Regions from separate parts of the Homo sapiens genome. Here regions 1, 2 and 4 are each linked to region 3. Evidence: promoter capture Hi-C in 16 types of primary human blood cells and fetal thymus (Javierre and others, 2016). All regions are on one chromosome and are shown on one strand. Each heading gives the region's core, a stretch centred on a gene start or on the middle of the fragment in contact. The rest is flanking DNA. Distances are from core to core; before and after follow the strand shown.

Evidence for each region. The method cuts DNA at HindIII sites, captures the fragments that hold promoters and counts their contacts. A CHiCAGO score of 5 or more calls a contact.
Region 1: the fragment with the promoter of HORMAD2 here is called in contact with the fragment with the promoter of CASTOR1 in region 3 in 2 of 17 cell types (activated CD4 T cells and M1 macrophages); the score reaches 7.4 in activated CD4 T cells.
Region 2: a fragment that was not itself captured here is called in contact with the fragment with the promoter of CASTOR1 in region 3 in 11 of 17 cell types (naive CD4 T cells, naive CD8 T cells, non-activated CD4 T cells and 8 more); the score reaches 10.1 in naive CD4 T cells.
Region 4: a contact is called between a fragment that was not itself captured here and the fragment with the promoter of CASTOR1 in region 3, in 12 of 17 cell types (total CD4 T cells, activated CD4 T cells, naive CD4 T cells and 9 more). The highest score is 9.3, in total CD4 T cells.

Annotation. Positions count from the first base shown.
Region 1 is chr22:30,078,977-30,082,147 of GRCh38, reverse strand. HORMAD2 (HORMA domain containing 2) reads right to left here and starts at 1,684. Exons shown (of 11, transcript NM_152510.4): 1 at 1,657-1,684. It overlaps HORMAD2-AS1 (HORMAD2 and MTMR3 antisense RNA 1), which reads left to right and starts at 1,891. Exons shown (of 5, transcript NR_110541.2): 1 at 1,891-2,020. RefSeq lists enhancers at 1,614-1,693, 1,531-2,228 and a silencer at 2,034-2,083. The HindIII fragment of the contact is 6,725 bases long and covers 1-3,171 here.
Region 2 is chr22:30,428,487-30,431,553 of GRCh38, reverse strand. MTFP1 (mitochondrial fission process 1) reads right to left here. Exons shown (of 4, transcript NM_016498.5): 4 at 2,500-3,067. The coding sequence ends at 3,020. Among named protein-coding and RNA genes, the nearest start is that of MTFP1, 4.3 kb to the right of the region's middle. The HindIII fragment of the contact is 2,630 bases long and covers 257-2,886 here.
Region 3 is chr22:30,288,121-30,291,089 of GRCh38, reverse strand. It overlaps CASTOR1 (cytosolic arginine sensor for mTORC1 subunit 1), which reads left to right and starts at 1,585. Exons shown (of 9, transcript NM_001037666.3): 1 at 1,585-1,705; 2 at 2,314-2,384. The coding sequence starts at 1,593. RefSeq lists an enhancer at 268-327 and silencers at 1,208-1,647, 1,848-1,927. The HindIII fragment of the contact is 5,917 bases long and covers 1-2,969 here.
Region 4 is chr22:30,118,979-30,121,736 of GRCh38, reverse strand. HORMAD2 (HORMA domain containing 2) reads right to left here. Exons shown (of 11, transcript NM_152510.4): 8 at 2,690-2,757; 9 at 1-105. Among named protein-coding and RNA genes, the nearest start is that of HORMAD2, 40 kb to the right of the region's middle. The HindIII fragment of the contact is 2,545 bases long and covers 90-2,634 here.

The sequences.
Region 1 (3,171 bases), core at 435-2,934, 210 kb after region 3:
CGTTAACATAAATGGGTTCAATAGATTCCTAAAGCTGGAAGGGAGCACAGACATCTTCCAACCCCTTTGATTTAAAGAAGATCCAATTCTGTGGAGGAAGAATCTTTTTTTCAGCAAATGATGCTGAAACAAAAGGACATCTGGAGGGTGGGGGGAAGAACAGAGAATTAAAAGAAACTTAACCTAAATCTCACACTGTATACAAATATTAATGCAAAATGGATCATGGATTTAAACCTAAACATAAAACTATAAAGAAAAGGGGCCAGGTGCAGTGGCTCACACCTGTAATCCCAGCACTCTGGGAGGCCGAGGTGGGAGGATCACGAGGTCAAGAGATCGAGACTATCCTGGCCAACATGGTGAAACCCTGTCTCTACTAAAAATAAAAAAAAATAAAAAAATTTAGCTGGGCGTGGTGGTGCACACCTGTAGTCCCAGCTACATGGGAGGCTGAGGCAGGGGAATCGCTTGAACCCGAGAGGTGGAGGTTGCAGTGAGCTGAGATTGCGTCACTGCACTCCAGCCTGGCACAGAGCTCGACTCCATCTCACAAAAAAAAAAGAAAAAAGAAAAGGAAAGTGAGGCTAAGCAAGGGAACTTGGTTTGCCAAAGTTCGCCCAATTACTTAGACCTTCCAACAGAGCTTGCTTCAATAAATTATTCACCATTTTAACAAATTCCATTTGGCCCTGGTAATTCCCCTACCTGTGCTCATTCAGAGAAAATGGCTTCCACTATATTAATTGAGTATTTGTTCATGCTCTTTTGACTTTTTAATATCTTTTTCATGCTATTTCAATTATTCATTCATTCAACATCTACGAGGCAACTACAATGTGCCAGGCAACAACATGCAGGATTACGAGATGTAAAATACTGTTCCTACCTCAACAGATTGATGGTCCAATGGAGGAGAAATTAGATTATGATCCTGCTGAGATTAAAAACCCCTTTAGGGGCCAGAACCACCCCTCATTTCTACCAGCTGAGTACACGATGTACTGCACAGCCTGTCCAGTGCCCTGCGTACTCGGACACATTTTGGCGATTGGCTAATCCTGAGGTTCAAGACTCTCTCCCTCTGTTTAGGGAACTAAAGTCCATAGGGATTAATTGGCAAATCCTCACTAAAGTGAAAGGGGAGCTGAGGTCAAGGGGGGCGGGGTGTCTTGTCCCCACCTCTCTCACCTCTTGGCCTGTACCAGGCATCGATCCTGGCAGAAAACCTCAATGGCTGGGGAGAATCTGACCCAGGTAAGATAAACTTCCCCAAAGCTCCACCACACACGGCCCCCTCCAATGTCGGGCACAGACATCGTCTGCCCTGCCAGCCTCATCATGGCTCATTATGGCTGCTGCTTGCTCAGCAAGTTTGATTTCATGTCCAGAAAAATCTGAATTTCAAAACTACCTGGGTGCTCTCTGTCCAGTTCTGGGGGAAATCGCCTCCCTTTTGCCTTCCTCCTCAGCCCCCTGCCCTCCCGATTCTCTTCACAGTACTTTAGGCCCTCACGAAATATGATACTTTCAAATCCAACTTAAAGCCTTAAGTAATAAGAAAAGAAAAAAAAATTGTTTTTTGACATAAAGACAGAACTAACAACGCCCGAGTGCCCTCTCTGGGCCGAGACCTCGCGTCTCAACAGCCCTCACCTCAGCTCGTCGACGCTTCCCTCCCACCGGGGGTCAACGGCCTTTTCCGGCCCAAACCCGCTCCTCGGCTCATGAATAGTCAACGAGGCCTTTCTGGGCGGGACCAGAGGTTTCCTCATGAATAATTCATGACCCGTCCACGGCTAGCCTGGGCGACCGGCCTCGCTAGACTTCATGAATATGCAAAGCAGGGGCGAACGGCGGCTAGCCGGCCCCTAGCCCGCCCGGCCCCTCAGCAGCCGCCTCTCAGCCACGGGCTGCACACTGACCCGACGCGACCTTCGGTCAGGGGCCGCCAGCCTGGGCCACCTATACAACGACAGCCTGCTCCGGGGCTTCCTGAGGAGGTGCCTGCCCCGCCGAGGTTAGGACCCGAGGGACCGTGGGGCTCGGGCGGGCCAGGACGCCAGGCCGGCGGGTCCCAGAGAGGTCTGAGGCGGGCGCGGGGCGGCGTAGGGGAGGGAAGCGAGAGCCTGGGGGGCCCAGGGACCCGAGTTAGAAGAAGGCCCGAGAAGTGCGGCGCGGTGGCTCCACCTGGGATCCCAGCACTCTGGGAGGCTGAGGCGGGCGCGTCACTTGAGGTCAGGAATTCGAGACCAGCCTGGCCAACATGTTGAAAACCCGTCTCTACAAAAAATACAAAAATTAGCTGGGCGTGGTGGCGCGCGCCTGTAGTCCCAGCTACTTGGGAAGCTGAGGCACGAGAATCGCTTGAGCCCAGGAGGCTGAGGTTGCAGTGAGCCGAGATTCCGCCATTGCACTCCAGCCTGGGCGACAGAGCGAGACTCCGTCTCAAAAAAATTTTAAAAAGTACAAAAATTAGCTGGGCCACCTGACGTGCGCCTGTAGTCCCAGCTGCTCGGGAGGCTGAGGTAGGAGGATCGCTTGAGCCGGGGAGTTTGAGGTTGCAGTGAGCCAAGATCGTACCATTGCACTCCAGCCTGGGCAACAGAGGGAGACCCTGTCTCAAAAATAAAAAAAAAGAAAAGAAAGAAAAAAGACATAAGGCCAGAAGGCCAGAGCTTTCCAATACTTGAGGGCATCTGCAACCTCTTCATCCCTACCCTGGACCTGACTTTGCATTCTTTTTAACATTAATTTGTAATTATGCAAATAAAACATAAATATATTCTCCTTTGTGCCCTACCCCTAATCTCAGTTTTTTCTGCCCTGGTAACTGTGGGAGCAGTTGGGGGTGTGGCTCCTTGGATCGTTTCTCACCTGTTTAGGTAGATATTTCGTATCCTGTGGTGCTTTCCAAAGGCTCCTGGAGTCCCATGAACCTCCCCAAGGGGATTTCCCAAGAGAGTAGATGAAAGAGTGAGCCACTTGAAACCTGTTCTTATTTTGTTTCTGCAGGAAAGAAAAAAAAAACTATTCAAGTTGGCGAGAACATGAGTTTAGAACATAATGACTAAAACTGAAATTTGGGCTGAAATATTCTTTTAGTGCAAGTTTTCTCAACCTTCTCCCCACCCCCACCATCATAACAACCAAAAATTTCTCTAGACTTTG
Region 2 (3,067 bases), core at 322-2,821, 140 kb before region 3:
TGCTAAATGGCAAATCTGCATCAAATCCTTAGCTACTGAATTCTGCAGAGATACAGGGCTCTGCATCTTTGAGAGAAAAACTCACACTCGGAGAGGCTGTGACTTGCAAATCAGTATGATCTGATTCTACCCTTCTTTCCAGCCCAGACACCCCAGCTCTTCTCCCCCGAATCTCCCGGGTACTCCCTGGCTCTTGGCAGCCTTGTCCTCGTGAGCCTCCAACAGCCCCCTCACCAGTTGGATGAAGCCATAAGCTTTGAATGGGGCAGTGAAGACCTCATAGCCAGGTATGGCAGGGACTGGGGAGGGCAGGCAGGTGCCAAGGCACAGGTGGCAAGCATCCACCTGGGGCTCCTTCCTCACTGCCAGGAGGACATCTGTCTGATTACAGTCCTGCAGGAGGCTGTCTCCTGGCAATCCAGCCCAGGCTAGCTCAGGCGGAGAACCAGACTCAGCGAGAACATGGCCAGCAGAGGGTGCCCAAAAACCTCCCCCAGCATCCCCCACCTTCAATTAATTCCCTGCATCTCCAGAATGGAGCAGGGAGCTGGGCACAGTGACTCACGCTTGCAATCCCCGCATTTTGGGAGGCTAAGGTGGGCAGATCAGTTGAGGTCAGGAATTTAAGACCAGCCTGGCCAACATGGTGAAACCCCGTCTCTACTAAAAATACAAAAATTAGCTGGACATGGTGGCATGCACCTCTAGTCCCAGCTACTTGGGACACTGAGGCAGGAGAACTGCTTGAACCCGGGAGGCAGAGGTTGCAGTAAGACAAGTTTGTGCCACTGCACTCCAGCCTGGGTGACAGAGCGAGACTCAGTCTCAAAATGATAATAATAATAATAAATGGAGCAGGGTAAAATGTTGGGGGGTTGTGGAGATGGTGGTGTTTCCCCCTACAGACAGGATGTCCACCGACCTCATCCCTATCAGCCTGGCCTGGGAGTGCCTCAAAGCCCCTTCTGTGAGCACCTACTATGTGCCAGGCATCTGCAAACTTGCACCCCGGTATTTCCTCACAAGTTACCACCAACGGGGCAGTCAAGGGCAGAGGTGGCCCACAGTAAGGCATAGTAAGGGGCAACAACAGAAGGGGCACTGGAGCTGGTTCTGAAGGGTGCTCATAGCTGGCCAAGAGGAAAAGGATTTGCAGCTGAGGAACAGTGTGTTGTGAGGAAAGGCATAGAGGCACAGGAGGGCAGGTGATGGGGAGAAGGACAAGGCTGGGCGCTTAGGCCCATGAGCACAAAGCCTATATGTGGCCTGCACAGATCCCAGCTTGAGGGAGAGCCTGCAGAGTGGAAAGTGGAGAGTGAGTGAGCAAGGAATTGGTGGTAGATGCCAGGAGATGTCACAGGGATGCAGGTGTGAATGTACCCCGCATGGGGCTGTGACTGCCGGGGGAGAAGATGAGCTGGGAAAATGCTGGGCTGGAGAAGGATGTGAGTGCCAGCTCAGACAGGGAATGGGGGGTGGGGTCGGGGGCTAGAGAACAAGGCGGGGCTTAAAGCCTTTAAGGGAGCTGGGAGGGAGTGACAGGTGACTGGGCAGAGGCCATAGGGGCTTGGGAAGGGGACCTTGCCAGTGTGGGACAATAAGAGTAGCAGAGAAAGGCTCAGCCCACATCAGACTCATCCTGTAGCCATGGATACCCCCAGAGCAGCAGGGGCCACCACCCCGGAGCCCCCATCCTGTCTTGCTGGCAGCACCCCTACCCAGCCCTGCAGCCCCTTTAAGTCCCAGCCCAGGTGCAGGTGAGTCCCACCAGGACAGGGTCAGCCTACCTGACTGCACCTGGGCTGCAAGGGATGGGGCCAGGGTCTTGGTGGGAGCTGATTTGGTGCTTGGGGCAGGGCTGAGAGGGGCCCAGGTCTGCTTCAGCCCTGTGCTCCCACCTCTCTACCTCTCTGAGCTGTTGAGGGGGATGGCCCAGGATCAGAGGAATGGCCCCCTCTAGCACTCTCGAGCCCAGCAGCTCAGGGGAAGCCACAAGGAAAACAGGCCATTCCCTGATTCTGAGTGTAAGAAGCCCCCTGGTCACTTCCTTCTCCAGGCTGCCGAGTCCCCTCATGAGGAGGTCTCATGTGACCCTCATATGGGGCTGACACCACCATCTTGGCCACCTTCAGGCTCAGGTGGTATCTGCCCAACAGGCTCCCCTCCCAGAGGGGTTGGTGCTTTAGGAGGCTAGAAAAAGAGGGCAATGCCAGGCTGAGTGCAGTGGCTCATTCCTATAATCCCAGCAGTTTGGGATGCTGAGGTGGGAGGATTGCTTGAGCCCAGGCATTCAAGGCCAGCCTGGGCAACATAGGGAGACCCCCATCTCTATTAAAAGTAAGTAAGTAAAGGGTAATGCCTACCCCAAAGGAGGCTGGCAGCACCAACGTGGGATGCCAGGCACCTGCAGGGAAGCACTAATGGGCGGGGAGACTGCTACCCATCCCTCCTCCCCACCACCACATCCCTGCTCCTCCCAAACAGAAATGAAGACATAACAACCTCTTCAGGATTTATTGGGTCAGGGAAGGGCCTGGCCAGAGAATCTGTCCTGAGGTGTCCCTGGTACTGCACTCCTGAGTTTCTCCCTGAGTTGTCTGCCGCTCCTTGTTCAGCCATACCACCATGGGGTGACTCTGTCAAGCACCTGGGGGTCCTGGGTGCCCAGCTTGCCAAGTGATCTTGGGCCTATTCCTTGCCCTCCCTGAGCCTCAGTCTCTCATCCTCCATGGGAGGATGTAATTTTCCTGAAAAAGACAGGGCCGGGCCCACCCAGGGTCCACTTCCACTCAGCATCTTGGATTCCAGGGAAGCAGACAGCGTTCAGGTCCTGCCCTTCTGTGACTCCCTGCAGCCACTGCTTCTTGAAGCCTTTGTCTCTAAGCTTCTGTCCAGCTCAAACCCACCCAGGTGCCAGGGTCTTTGGACACCAGGGAGCCAGGTGTCCACATTCCCTGGCAGGAGTAGGAGGTTGACATGAAGCAGGAGGCCGATGCACAGGCCAGGTACCAGAGTATGATCAGGAGGAGCTGGGCTTCCCCACTGTTGGGTAGAGCTTGCGCAGGCT
Region 3 (2,969 bases), core at 336-2,835:
CTTTCAGCCTTCGCCTGGGCCTGGAACATCCTGTCCTGGTACAGCTGGGGATACTGAGGCCTAGGGAGGTGAAGGGTTTCAAGAGACTATCAGGGTAGGCCACTCCACTTCCTGCCTCCTTCCCCTCAGCCCCATGGTTTCCCACTCTGTCTGCACCTGCCATTGATGAGATGGGCTCAGCCTTTGAGAAGCTCCTCCTTCCCCTAGTCCTCCAGGGGATAGGCCAGGATGTGGTGGCTACATAGTGTTTCACAGGAATGTGTCAAGCCCGAGAGTCCAGGGAGGAGGCTTAGCTTGGCTTCCATCTGCCTATGGTGGGGGCTCCAGAGCAGGCAGAGGGCCTGCTTAGGCCTGCTGGGTCCCAATCAGGCCTGAGGCCTGCTTTAGTCTACTTGGTTCAAAGCCTCACATCTGAGGCCTCAGGGTGCTCAGGCCAGGCAAGGGTCCCCTGGAGCATTCTCAGCCCTGCATGGAGCCAACATGGACATGCTGATGCCTGCTTAGCCTTGGGGGGGTCTTAGACCTGTGAAGGCCTGATAAGATCTGGGGTGTCTGCCAGTGCCGGGGGCCTCCTTGAACCTGAAGCAAGTTTAGATGTGCACAGGCTAGCTAAGGGCTGCAGGCTTTGGGGCTCAAGTTTCAGGCTTGAGGTCTGAGTACTCACTGAACCTCAGCTGCAAGGGCCTCCCCCACCAAAGTCTGAGCACTGGGCATTACTGGCTCAAGCACTTCCGGGTTTTGTTGGTATCGAGGGACCTCAAGCCTTAGGCCTTGGCCACCTGCAGCCCCCTAACCCAAAGTATGTCGCTCAGGCAGAGGTGGCTAGGATTCTACCTCTGTGTGCCCCTGGTGAGGAGCCTTCTATTTTGAAAGTTGGATGAAAGGAACAAGTGGGGCTACCAGGCCAGGTTTCAATTTGTCAGCCCCCTCGCAAGCGGGGAAGGGTAGGTATCAATCGCAATCCTGTGTTGGCGGCCCTGCCCCCTGCAGCCATGAGAGGCAGGAGAGCGAAAGGCGCCCGGGGGACAGCGCTGCACAGCAGACCTGTGCCTCTCATTGCTCCGGGGATTTGGGGGCAGCGTTCTGGTCCTAGCCGAGCTCCAGTTTGTTTCGTGTCCCTTCTGTCTCAAGGACTTCAATCATGAAACCCACGTGTGTGCCAGAAGGACAGAAACGTCCCCTCCGGGATGCTCCCACCGGCTGCGCAGCTGGCTTTCCGCGGAAAGGGCGGAGCCCAGGGAGGGGGCGCGTCAGGGGCGGGGCCTGGAGGAGTCAGACGGGGTGGGGTCTATCCCCGAGCCAGTACTAAAAAAGGCGGAGCCGTTCGGGGCGGTCTCGGTGGGCTGGCTGGAAAGCGGGATGAGGTTCTGGCGTTAGGAGGAGGCGTGACCACCCAATAGGCTTCTCTTCCCGCGGGGCGTGGCCGTCAAGGAGCCGGACGCCGCGCCTGGCTGGGCGGGTCAGCCTCGCAGCGGGCGGCGTGGACGCGGCAGCGCAGCGGCTCCTTTAAGGCTCGGGCACCACCCCCGCCGCCCCGCCTCCCGTGCGGCCTGGGTCTAGTTGGCGGCGGGGTCGGGTCCGCGCGAGCCGCGATGGAGCTGCACATCCTAGAACACCGGGTGCGGGTGCTGAGCGTCGCCCGTCCCGGTCTCTGGCTCTACACCCACCCGCTCATCAAGCTGCTCTTCCTGCCCCGCCGCAGCCGGTGCGCGCCCGGGTTCGGGAGCGCAGATAGGGGCTGGGGGCTCTGCTCTCGCTCCGGGCCAGGGTCGGAGGATTAGGATCGCCGTAAGGCAGGCAGGCAGGCGGGCGGGAGCGGGTGGGGAGGACTCTCCCCGTCCGGCCGCCATCCGGCCTGGGGGACCGCCGCCTATCCGGCCCCGTGAGGCCCCCTCCCAGGGGCAAAGCGCAAACAGCCTGGGATGGGCAATGCTTAACTCAGTAGTGTCAAATGGGGGCATTCCTACCTGGTCACTGCGGGGAGCTCCTTCCAGGACGCCTCCCTTCATGTCAGAGGGGCTGGACTAGGGGGTCCAAGGTCCGACGCCCCTGGGGCTGTCGCCGCGGGTGTGAACCTCTCCTCCCTCCAGGAGTGGAGGGGTGGAGGGTTCCTGGAGAGGTCGGGAGGCCGGAAAGTAGCCCCCAACCCCCGAGATGGGGCTAACATCCCATTGGCCTGGAAATTAAAGGCCGAGAGGGCAAGAAGGCGCCCGGCCCAGGGTCGCGGGGGTGTCTCGGGGCAGATGGAGAGAAATCCACTCCCGACCCCTAGTTCTCCACACCAAGCTGAAGATGCTCCCCACCCCCAACCAGGTGCAAGTTCTTCAGCCTGACGGAGACCCCTGAGGATTACACGCTTATGGTGGACGAGGAGGGCTTTAAAGGTGGGGGTTGGTCTGGGGAACGGGAGTACGGGAGGGGCTTGTCGTGCTCCCCTTCTGTAGGGTTCTCACCAGTTGCTGGGATCCGTCCCAAGAGCTTAAGCCTTAAAAGCAGATGGGTCGGGGTTCGAATCCTACTCCACCACTCCCTGGCTGTGTGCCCTTGAGCAAATCACTTTCCCTCTCTGAGCTGTTTTCTCTTATGTAAAATGGGTATAGTTATGGTTCTGATACATAGGGTCCCATGAGGCCTTTATAAACTTAAAACCGCTGAGGGGCACTCAGCAGTCTTAGGCCTGCAGAAGGGCCTCTGTTATGATTCCAGTCAAGTGCTGCTGTTAGAAATCCCTGGGTATTATTTCCTCCTGGTCTTACTCTCTGGTTTGGGTCACCTCCTCCCCTGCTGGTCTGGAAACTCCAGGAGTCTGAGGGAAGGAATGCAGGAGCAGGCAGCCATCTCAGGGGAGGGTCCTGGAGGCCTCCTGGCTGTGCTGGGGTGAATAGCAGCCACCCAGGCCCTGGCCCCAGCTCAGGACTGGACGCCAGCCTGGGCCCTCCCTGGGGCCTGGAGCTGACGCCTAGCTCCTC
Region 4 (2,758 bases), core at 113-2,612, 170 kb after region 3:
TCAAGGTCCTGCATCAGTATATACAATTTACGGATCAGTAGAACACTGGCTTTCTTAATATCTTCATTGTTTGTTCCACTTTCAAAGCTTGTACTGCTGCTATGACTACACAGAAAAAAAAGCATACTTTTTGATCATATACAATAGTGGCAATCTATCCCAAAAGGAACAAAACTTTTGACTATGTGAGTAAATATAAATTAAACATTAGTATATTTTGAGACTTTTTTAGAATGTAAATTAGGGGAGCGATGGTACTTTTTGCAATGTATATACAAAGAATTTCTTAAGTAGCAAATTCCCTAAAAGCATTTAAAATACGATCTTTTTAAAAATTTGATTTGAAAAAAATCATATACCACAACAGTAAGAACAACGAATTTGGAATTAGGTGACCTGGCATCTAATATCAGCTCTGCTGATAACTAGCTGAATGACCTTGGTCAAGTCATTTAGACACACTCTAGGTCAGTTAGCTCATTTGTGAGATAAGCGTAAAGACATTTCTACAACTCTCAAGCATAAAATCAATCACCAGCTCTGGGACTTTCTACCGTCTGATTATCTCGCAAAAGTATCCCTTCCTCACTCTTGCATTGATTACTACAGTGGCTATCTAACTATTTTTCCTGCTTTCCTTCTTGTCCACACTACAAAATATTCTCCATATCACCGCTGAAATAATATTACTAATAGGAAAATCTGTTCATGTCACCTTCTTACTTAGAATTCTTCTATTATATCCATCAGTTTTCAATCAAATTCAAAGACAGTGTGTATACAATTCCTTTCACAACCCGTCATATCCTCACCTCCATCCTCATCTGCAGCTATTGCCCAGTTTCCTCTCACTCAAAGTATTTGCATATGCTGTTCACTTTGCTTGTACTGTGCTTTTCCACTTTTCTTCCTGACTGTCCTAAATTTATCCTCTAATACCTAGCTCATGCGCAGACTCTTCAAAGAAGTCTTCTCTGATAATACCCTCATCTCATCCTCAGGATAACTATTTGTCCTTCTCTAGACTGTGAGTGGCTATATCTTTCATCTCCACAGTACAGAGTTTGGTGCCCAGCTATTCAATCAACATTTGTTGAATTAATGAATGAATGAACAATTTGGACTAAATTACCTTCCAATTCTAAACTTTGTTCATTTATCTCCAAAGTTTCCTTCCACAATTAGTCTCACATTTGAGTAGTTTCCAGGAGGGACCATGACTATAATATATTTACACATGGCTGTGCACATAGTTAGCTCTTAATATGAAAAATAACCCTAAGTAATTGAAATGTTGGATTTTTCCCTAACTGATCTTTGGAGACAGTGTGAATTCATGAAGCAAACATTTATTAAGTGAATACATTAGCTCCTTTTCCAATTTTGAACAACTTAAAATTCTGCCAACCAGGATTTAACCAATTCAAATGTAGGTAACCAGAATGAAGGGCTATAGATATGTAGCTCATGGGAGCCTCCAGGACACATCAGTAAAATCATATTCAGGACTCCCATTTAAACAAATGCCTATATTTCTTCTCTAGGAAATTAATAATATGCATCACCTTCTCTCCTTAGCATGTGAAAGATTTGGCCATTTTTGTTTTACAGCTTACCTCTTGGCATATGTGCCTTCAGAACAAAAGAGTTTAATCTGGCCATCAGTGTATATTTTTGAGTTTTGGAGAGTAAAGGTAACTTTTTATGTGAGAAAACGTGTATGAAAAGTGCTGCTGTATAAGCTGTAAAGTATTATACAAATGTTAGCTAATAAAAGGTAATATTTTAATTCTCATTTTTGGAACTGATTTTCTCTTCACATTCTAGTGCTGTCTGTAGGTTTTACAAATGGAAGGATAATCAAGGGAGTGAATCTTGGAGAAAAGTCCTCAAGCTCATGGCAAATGATGAGCCAGAGCTAATAGTAGGGAAAATTGAAAATTAGGCCATGTCTCTCATCAGTCTTTCCTTTCAAGGGCATCCATCCCCCTTACTTGGATTCCTCTACTATCCAGAGCTTTTCACCATCATCTGTACCTTCCACTACTGTGCCATCTCATCAGCAATACTTAGCTCTCCATCCCCCCTGGCAGGTCTGAATCCAAAAGCTACTGGGAGAAAAATAAACGTTGCTCTTCAATGTCCTTGTGTTTGCTATTTAACCCATTAGTAACCTAAAACTTGGAATTTTCGACTTCATAAGGAAACTGCAGTGCTTTCTAATCTTTTCATACAAGGACACAAGGAAATGATATTTATATGACATACTGGGGTAAGCAAATGAGAATATTTGTGCATACGGGCAAATAGTCCAAGGGTATTATCTACCCTAGGCACAGGCTGGCTATATCGAGGTGGAAAGGATCGCTATCTAGGCATAGCAGTTGAGAAACTTTGAATTAATGGCTAGACAGAGCCTTATGGAGTTATTCAATCAATAGCGTGTAGGCAACCTTATTGACATAATTTCTACCTTTGTGCTGCATGCCATTTTCTCTATTCCCACCAGCTTAATCCATGGATTTCAGGAATGTAAACAATTGTTGCAGCCCCTTTTTATAATAGTGGTTTTCTGTAGGGTTTGTGGGGAAATGTGTAAAGAAGTATAAGGCCTTTCTCTGGCCTCAAGAAGCTTATGTTTACCTCAATCCTATTTATTTCTCATGTTCATTAAGCAGTTAGATTCTACCTGTCAAAATCCATAGTGGCTCCTTCTTTCGTGTATTTGAATTTGAACTGGTACATCTCAGTCACCTTC